2 separate regions of the Homo sapiens genome follow, and region 1 is linked to region 2. Evidence: promoter capture Hi-C in 16 types of primary human blood cells and fetal thymus (Javierre and others, 2016). All regions are on one chromosome and are shown on one strand. The core of a region is centred on a gene start or on the middle of the fragment in contact, and the rest is flanking DNA. Distances in the headings are between cores, read along the strand shown. Region 1 overlaps ZNF337 (zinc finger protein 337). Region 2 holds the start of ACSS1 (acyl-CoA synthetase short chain family member 1).

Region 1 (3,911 bases), core at 61-2,560, 630 kb before region 2:
ATTCAGATTTCACACTCAGGTTCATTAAGATGGGAAGCATGAGAGAAGAAATATCTAGAAACCAGCTCAGTAGTGCCCCTTGTCTGTTTTACTTCTCTCGTTGTGATCTAGGTAAAGGAAGTTTCCCTACCTTGGCAAACTTCCCATTTGCTTGCTTAGGTGCTGAGGCTTGTTCATTCTTTCCTTGCCATAGCTTTTTCCTTCCCTTCCTTCCTTCTGCCTGCCAGGCTCATCTCCTAATTCTACTTCTACCCATAAGGACAAATAATGATCACACCACTTACCTAATTGCCTGGCCCTAGTTCTGGTCCCAACTATAATCAGAAATGTGGATTCTGGAATGGCAGTGAGGAGCGACGTGGACTGTATCTCCAGTAAAACACCATAACTGGTAATTTAGAAAACCAAAAACAACCATTTAAACTACACGGAATTTGTCTTAAGACCACTCAGGAATTTAGAGAAACATTTATTCAGAAAAATCAACTGAGCCTTTCTGAGAACAGTGAGAGTCTGTAACATTTGACACACAAACTGCTACCCTCCCCACCCCCATTTTGGTCCACTCTGAGAGAAACTCCACTGTGGGCTGTGAAAATCACAAGATGGAACCCTGTCCCTCTCCAGTTCTCAGTCTATGGTGACAGCTTTTCCCTGAGAGAGGCACGATGCCACTATTCTTAACTTCTCTCCCCCTGCCAGTCCTGTGTTCCTGAAGCTGGTTTCATGTAAGTATAGTTGAGAAGTGTGTTTGGGTGTGGACCTCCTTGAATTTATTCTTGGAGTTTGTTGAGTGTGCTGGCCTTGTAGATTCATGTCTGTCTTCAAATTTTGAAGTTTTGGCCATTATTTCTTCAGTAATCTATCAGCATCTTCTAGACACCCATATATATGTCCAGTTAATGGCACCTTATAACTCTTTTGGCTCTGTTTATTTCATTCTTTTCTCTTCTGCTTCTCTGTCTCTGAAATTTCAAATTCTTCTCTTTATGTTTACTGATTATTTCTTCTGCCTGCTCATCTGCCGTTAAATCCCTCTACTGAATTTTTCAATTACTGTGTTTTCGGGTCCAGAATTTTTGTTTGCTTCCTTTTTGTAATCTCTGTTGGTATTTTGTTCATATATATTTTCCTGATTTCCTTTTCTCTACCCGTGTTTCATGAGTTTTTGAGAATATTTTAGACAGTCTAAAATCTGTCTAGTTTGCCTGAAGCTTATGTTTCTCCGGGGAAGGTTTCCGTCACTTTATTTTCTTCCACTTATTGGGCCATGTTTTCTGAGTTTTTGTTGTTGTTGTTAGAAATTAGGCATTGTGGAAAAAACAACCTCCTTTTCCGGTTTTTGCAGACTGACTCTTTTCCAGGGAGGATTTTTGCTATTATCTTGGTATTCGTTCTAAGCTTTGGGATCAATCTGAGGAGAAGGTTTAAGATTTTCTCAGGCCTTTTTGGAGCATGGATCTTACCTTTGCTTGTGGCTTTTTCCATTTTCTCATAGGCAACTGCTTTTAAATATTTATTTGTCCCAAGAGTCTCTCCTCTGGGCCTTTGATGGTCTGTTGTATGTCTCCACCCATAATATCTTGCCCCAGGCATCTGCTCTTCAATCTGTCTGCATCTTTGCCAAGCATGATCCAGTGCTTTTCTTCCCTAAGGTGTGAGATCCTCAAAACAGAGCAGTCCCTCAGGCAGCCTCCAACAGCTTAGAACCTTGTAAGAAAGGTCTACTGTGCTTTCTCAGGTTTGAGGGAAGGAAGTGGAAACTGAGATGCTGCTTTAGAAGCTCTGTTGTATTCTGCACCTGTAATTTTTTGCCCCAGGGATCTATAGGCAAGTTCACCATGAGATTTTTCCATTAGACAACACTTGGACAGGATAGAACATTGGGAATAAGGTGTATTGGGCTGCAAATATGACTGTCTCCTGTTTTGTTTTTGTTGTTGTTGTTGTTTTGTTTTCTTGAGACTATGTCTTGCTCTGTTGCCCAAGCTGGAGTGGAGTGGCATATTCAAGGCTCATTGCTGCCTCAACCTCTTGGGCTCAAGCCAGGAGTAGCTAGGACTACAGGCACGTGCCACCACATCCAGCTAATGTTTATATTTTTTGTAGAGATGAGCCTTTGCCATGTTGCCCAAACTGGTCCCGAACTCCTGGGATCAAGCGATCCACATGCATCAGCCTCCCAAAGTGCTGGGATTACAGGAATAAGCCACTGTGCCCAGCCAGCTGCCTTCTGTTTTTAATGTGGCTTTTTCTTGATTGGGCAGTTTCTTGAATGCTGGGGACTTTTGAGTATTTTCAAATGAAGTTAGCTCCTATAAGATTATTTTAGCCAATTTTTTGGTAAGCATAGAATTAGCAATATGATTAATGCTTTTTCTGTAAACTAGTGTTATGAAAAATCTCAAATGGGTAGCAAAATTGGGAGATGGTAATAGGAATCCCCATGTTGCCTTCATCCAGATTTGATCATTTTAAAACCATGGGTAGTTCTGTTAGATTTATCCCTTCCCCCTGTTTATGTGCCAAAGTATTTCAAACAAATCCAGATGTCTTGTTATTTTACCCATATATACTTGATCTCTGAGAGGATTTTTAATCAGTGTTGAGGTGTAACTTGCATACCGTAAGAAGCACTGCTTTTAACTGTATAATGAGTTTTGACTCTTTAAAGTATACACAGGTCACTTATCACCTCAATCAAGATACAGAACATTTCAACAAGAGTTCTCATGTGCCCTTACATGTAATCATTCCAGAGGAAAATAGTCAAGAATTCTCACCAAAATATGGACAAGTAGTATCCAGCAATACATGAAAAGGATGATATATTCTAGCCAAATAGAGTTTGTTCCCAAAAAACCGAGGATAGAGTGAACATAGAGTAAGCAACCTGTGGAGATATTTAACTTTTTTTTTTTCTTGATGCGGAGTCTTGCTCTGTTGCCCAGGCTGGAGTGCAGTGGCACGGTCTCCGCTCACTGCAAGCTCTGCCTCCCACGTTCACACCATTCTCCTGCCTCAGACTCCTGAGTAGCTGGGACTACAGGCGCTCGCCACCACACCCGACTAATTTTTTTTTTTTTTTTTTTTGTGACGGAGTCTCACTCTTGCTCAGGCTGGAGCGCAGTGGCGCGATCTCGGCTCACTGCAAGCTCTGCCTCCCGGGTTCACGCCATTCTCCTGCCTCAGCCTCCCGAGTAGCTGGGACTACAGGCGCCGCCACCACTCCCGGCTATTTTTTGTATTTTTTTGTATTTTCAGTAGAGACGGGTTTCACGGTGTTAGCCAGGACGGTCTCAATCTCCTGACCACGAGGAGGAGGCCCGCCTCAGCCTCCCAAAGTGCTAGGATTACAGGCGTGAGCCACCGCGCCCGGCAGAGATACTTACCCTTACTTAACCTATCTGTAGTTCTCCGCTTAGGAACAAAAGGAAAGGTAGCTTCTTGGATGAATCAGCTTTCAGCTTAATATTTTTCTTTTGGCAGAGTGGTTTGGGTTCCAACGTTTTTATTTTCCTTTCACTGCTTTCAGGGAGCAAAAGAGAAAAACCTACATTACTATCTTAATGCAGAAAAATACTTGATAACATTTCACACCTATTCAGGGTAAAAATTCTCAGTAAATGAGGAATAGAAAGAATTTCCCTTAATGAAACAAAGGTTATGTGTGACAGCCTGGCTGCAATCATCATATTTAATGGTGAAGTGTGTTCACACTAAGATCAGGAACAAGCATTAATGTTGATTCTTATCACTCTTATTTAGCATTATCCTAGAATAACTAGCTAACCTGTTAAGGTATTAAAAAGGAATAAAAGGCATAAACGTTGAAACAGAAAAAAAAATTTTTTATTCACAGAAGATGTGAGTATGTACATGGAAGAATAGTTAAACAACTAGATACTAGT
Region 2 (4,145 bases), core at 1,389-3,888:
TCTAGGATGACAAGGGTATGAGCCCAAACAACAGGAAAATGCCATTTCCATTCACTGACATGGAAGATCCGTGTTGTGGGGAAGAATCCCAGGACTTGGTATGTTTCAGATGTGAATGAGACATTTGAATACAGGACTGAGATGTGGAGGAAAGGTCCAGGCGGGAGGTGTCAATATGAAAGTGAGAGGCTAGAGAGCTGGCTGCTGTTTCCTAGGGGGCAGGGGAGAAAGGGGGATTTGAGGGCTGAGCTCCTGGGCACTTCAACACTTGGAAGGCAGAGAGAAGAAAGGCACCCAGTACAGGGCACTGAGAGGCAATAGTCAGTGAGTGAAAGAACCATGCATTTTTCAGCCTCAGTTGTTGTATCAGTTACCACTGCTGAGTTACAAACCATCCCAAAATTTAGTGGCTTAAATTTATTCCTTCTACAATTCTGTAAGTGGACTGGGAGGTTCCTTTGCATCCCAGGTGTTATCTGGGGTGACTCATGAGGCTGCCTTGGCTGGGACAGGAGCCTCCACATTGGCGTCATTCTTGTCTGGGAGTTGGTCCTGGCTGTGGATGGGACAGCTTCATCCTCGCCCTGGGTCCCTTCCTCTGGAAGGCCAGCCCCGCTTCCTCACAGCTCGCAGCTGGGTTCCATGGGAGGATAAGCTGGGGCTACGGGGTCTCTCAGGACCTCCACATGGAACTGTCACAGCATCCCTCCCACCAGGCTGTACTGGCCAAAGCAATCCAGCCAGCCAGGGTCCTCCTCTGGACAGAGCAGCACACCATCATGTGCAGGCGGTGCAGGCGTGGGAAGGAAGAGTTGGTGGCCGTCTTTGGGACCCCCTGCCACAGTTAGGAGCTTTCTCAGTTTACAATTTTACTACTCACTGACCTCTGCCTCTCAGTGCCCTGTACTGGGTGTCTTTAATATTCTATTCAAATGAACTTAGGCCAACGAGCTCCCCACTGGGGGCACTGGGTGTTAGTCTTGCTCTTCCCTTAGCCAGCTGCATGCTCTTTAGTAAGTCCTTTTATTTATTTGGGCTCAGTTTCCTCATTTTTTCCACCTGGAGTTTGACAGTTGGTGGGAATGGACAGCACTAGATAAGTTTCAAATTAAGTAGACTAGTCGGGTGCCGTGGCACACGCTTGTAGTTCCAGATACTCAGGAGGCCGAGTCAGGAGGATCGCTTGAGCTCAGGAGTTCCAGGCTGTAGTGAGCTGTGATGGGAACCATTGCACTCCAGCCTGGGCTACAGGCCCTATCTCTAAAAAAGTATCATAAATAAATAAAGGAGAAAATGCAGGTCAAGCGCTAGCACTGTGCAGGGCATGTGTTATGCTAGTAGATGTCACTGATTCTCCAGCTCTAGGTACACTCCTGTCTTCTCTGGCAGACAGCAGCATTCCCCAGCAGGGGCTGGTGGCTAGCCCACGCAGAGGCTCCTCCAATGGCAGGCTCCTCCCCTCTGCAAGCCCTACAGCTCAAGGGAAAGAAACTTTCCCATCACAGAGAACTCAATAAACCAGTTTTCCAAAATCTCTCTTCCCTGTGTTTACCCGTTTGTTATGAATTTACTTCTTGGGTGTCAGAATATTTAAGAACTCGGTGGAGACCAGTTTTATACGTTTCCTTCTGTCCTTCCTGGCTCCACAGCTGCAAAAACATCATCCCCACTACTGAGCTTACTATGGGGCCACGCAAGGGTAGACGCTTGACAGACATTGTCCAATGTATTCCTTACTGCAGCTGCCCACCCCCGCCGTCCCCGCCCCCCAGGGAGACATTACTTCCGTCTTCCCCAAAAGGAAAACGAGGCACCGAGAAGTTAAGGAACTTGCTCAAGGTCACAGAGTTTGAACTCAGGCTACAGATGCTGCAGCAACTGGAGAAAGTCCTCATCGCCCCATATCACCCACCACCGACCCCCAGCAGGACGTGACCCCCGCCAGGACGGAGGCCGGCAGCTGGGGGGCTGGAGCATGGGACCCAGAACACGGACTCAGGCTTGCGCAGCCTCCTGGCTTCTAGGCGGGAGCCTAGAAAGGCGCCAGCCCCTTTCGCGTGCTGCTGAGACTCCAGGGGTGGGGTTCACTCTCAGGGGCGCACAAAGGCATGAAAACCTTGGCTTCAGCCTCTGAGATGCGGAACTGACCGACCTATTGTCTTGGGACCCACCAGTGCGCTTGGGTGCACCAGCCCCCTTAACGTTGGTGCCGGCTCCCTCCCGGCTCCTCCCCATCCCAGAGGGTCCCCTCGCCCCAGGCCCTGAGCCTGCGTCCTGGGGTCCTGGGCCGCACGTGCCTCTGGCAGCTCGAAGAAGCTGTCGGGGCTTGCAGGAGAGCGTGCAAACTGAAACCAAAACAGGCCGACTCGAGGAACATCCGGGTGGGACCGCAGACTCACCGGAGCGCAGCGCCTGGGCCAGGGCCTGGGACCCTGCTCCGCCCCGCGCTCCCCTGCACCCCTTCCCCACGCTGCTCCCCTCTTCCTAAGCGGCCCCCCCTCTCCCGGGCAGCAGAAGAAGGGGTGGGACCCGGGCGGGCTCCGGGAGGGGGCCCTGGAGGAATGGATGGTGGCGGAAGGGCGGAGCAGGGGCGGGGCCCGCGGAGACTCCACGGGGCGCCCCGGGCGTGAGGCACCCACTCTGGGAGCACAGAGAGCTCAGGTAGCCTGCCTAGATGGCGGCGCGCACCCTGGGCCGCGGCGTCGGGAGGCTGCTGGGCAGCCTGCGAGGGCTCTCGGGGCAGCCCGCGCGGCCGCCGTGCGGGGTGAGCGCGCCGCGCAGGGCGGCCTCGGGACCCTCGGGCAGCGCTCCCGCAGTTGCAGCAGCAGCAGCACAGCCAGGCTCGTATCCCGCGCTGAGTGCACAGGCAGCCCGGGAGCCGGCCGCCTTCTGGGGGCCTCTGGCGCGGGACACTCTCGTGTGGGACACCCCCTACCACACCGTCTGGGACTGCGACTTCAGCACTGGCAAGATCGGCTGGTTCCTGGGAGGCCAGTTAAATGTCTCTGGTGAGTGGGCTTCGGGAGACCCAGGACGCCCCCAACTCTTGGGTCCCGAGGGGACTCGGAGCCTCTCGCCAGCGGCAGCCGTCCCCGGGCAGCGCGGATCGCAGCCCTGCAGGGGCCCCTCCTCCGGTATTCCGTCCGCCCCGCCCGCTCTAAGCAGTGGCTCCACGTCACCCCGTCCCTCATCCCATCGGGCCCCAGATCCACGTGCCCAGCTCGGGCCGGCGCCCGCGGGGACCCGGCGGCCGCTTGGGACGCCCCGCTGCTGGCCTTGCTCGGCGCGGCTCCTCGCTCGGCGGACTCCAGAGTTGCGTTACCGGGTGCATAGCGCCGCTGAGCAAGAGCCGGCGGGGAGCCGCGGGCTACACCCGAGCGCCCCGGAGTCGGGACTTTCCCGTTCCCATACCGGGGTGGAGGGAAAAACAAAGCGGTGGCGGTTGTCACTGCGGGCTGCGGTGCCCGGGGATCAGCCTGGGGACAAGCCCTGCCCACGTAAACAAACAGAGCTGTGGCGGGCGACCTGGGGAGGAGGAAACTCGGCGTGGCAGCTGGAACCAGTTATTTCTTCGCTGCGGGCCTGGGGCCTGGGGCCTGTGGACGGGAAGGAAGTAACGGCGGCCTCCCCGTTCTCGTTCTCGGCCTCAGAGAACTGCACCCCAGCGACCTGGGGCCTGCTTTGGACCCGCGGGGTCTGACGTCGGCCCCAAACAGTTGACTGGTGGTCAGTTGTTTGGAACTTGCTGAGCAGAGGCCCTGCTGCTCTGCTAAGATTTGGGGCTGGGGGTCGTACACAGCACCCTCGCCCCCACCTAAGGCGCTGACTGGGCACCGAGGGGGAGGCCCTGAACTGCAGGCAGGGCTGGCCACGCAGGGTGGGTGCCAAGTGCGAGGTGGGCTCCGGATGCAGGGTGGGCCTGGGTGTGGGGCCTGCGGGGAGGGGCTGGCAGACACGGTGTTGATCAGAGGGATGCAGACCAGAAGGGTGGTCATAACCAGCTTGCTGGATTTGGGAGTGTTTAAGAAAGGACCTGCGGGTCTTTATGGCAGGGTCACCAGGGCCCCATTTTCTCCAACTCCTCCCTCAGTTGTCCTTGTTGTTCTGCCCCCCCAGCCCTCAGTCTCCTCATTGTGAGGATGGGG

What was found. Contacts are between HindIII fragments. The CHiCAGO score rates a contact against its expected background, and 5 or more counts as called.
Region 1: a fragment that was not itself captured here is called in contact with the fragment with the promoter of ACSS1 in region 2 in 2 of 17 cell types (total B cells and naive B cells); the score reaches 9.4 in total B cells.

Annotation. Positions count from the first base shown.
Region 1 is chr20:25,688,317-25,692,227 of GRCh38, reverse strand. The region is part of intron 1 of ZNF337 (zinc finger protein 337); the gene reads left to right. Among named protein-coding and RNA genes, the nearest start is that of ZNF337, 6.6 kb to the left of the region's middle. The HindIII fragment of the contact is 187 bases long and covers 1,217-1,403 here.
Region 2 is chr20:25,056,632-25,060,776 of GRCh38, reverse strand. It overlaps ACSS1 (acyl-CoA synthetase short chain family member 1), which reads left to right and starts at 2,638. Exons shown (of 14, transcript NM_032501.4): 1 at 2,638-3,008. The coding sequence starts at 2,675. RefSeq lists enhancers at 2,157-2,762, 3,413-3,542 and silencers at 2,383-2,912, 3,043-3,312. The HindIII fragment of the contact is 7,356 bases long and covers 1-4,145 here.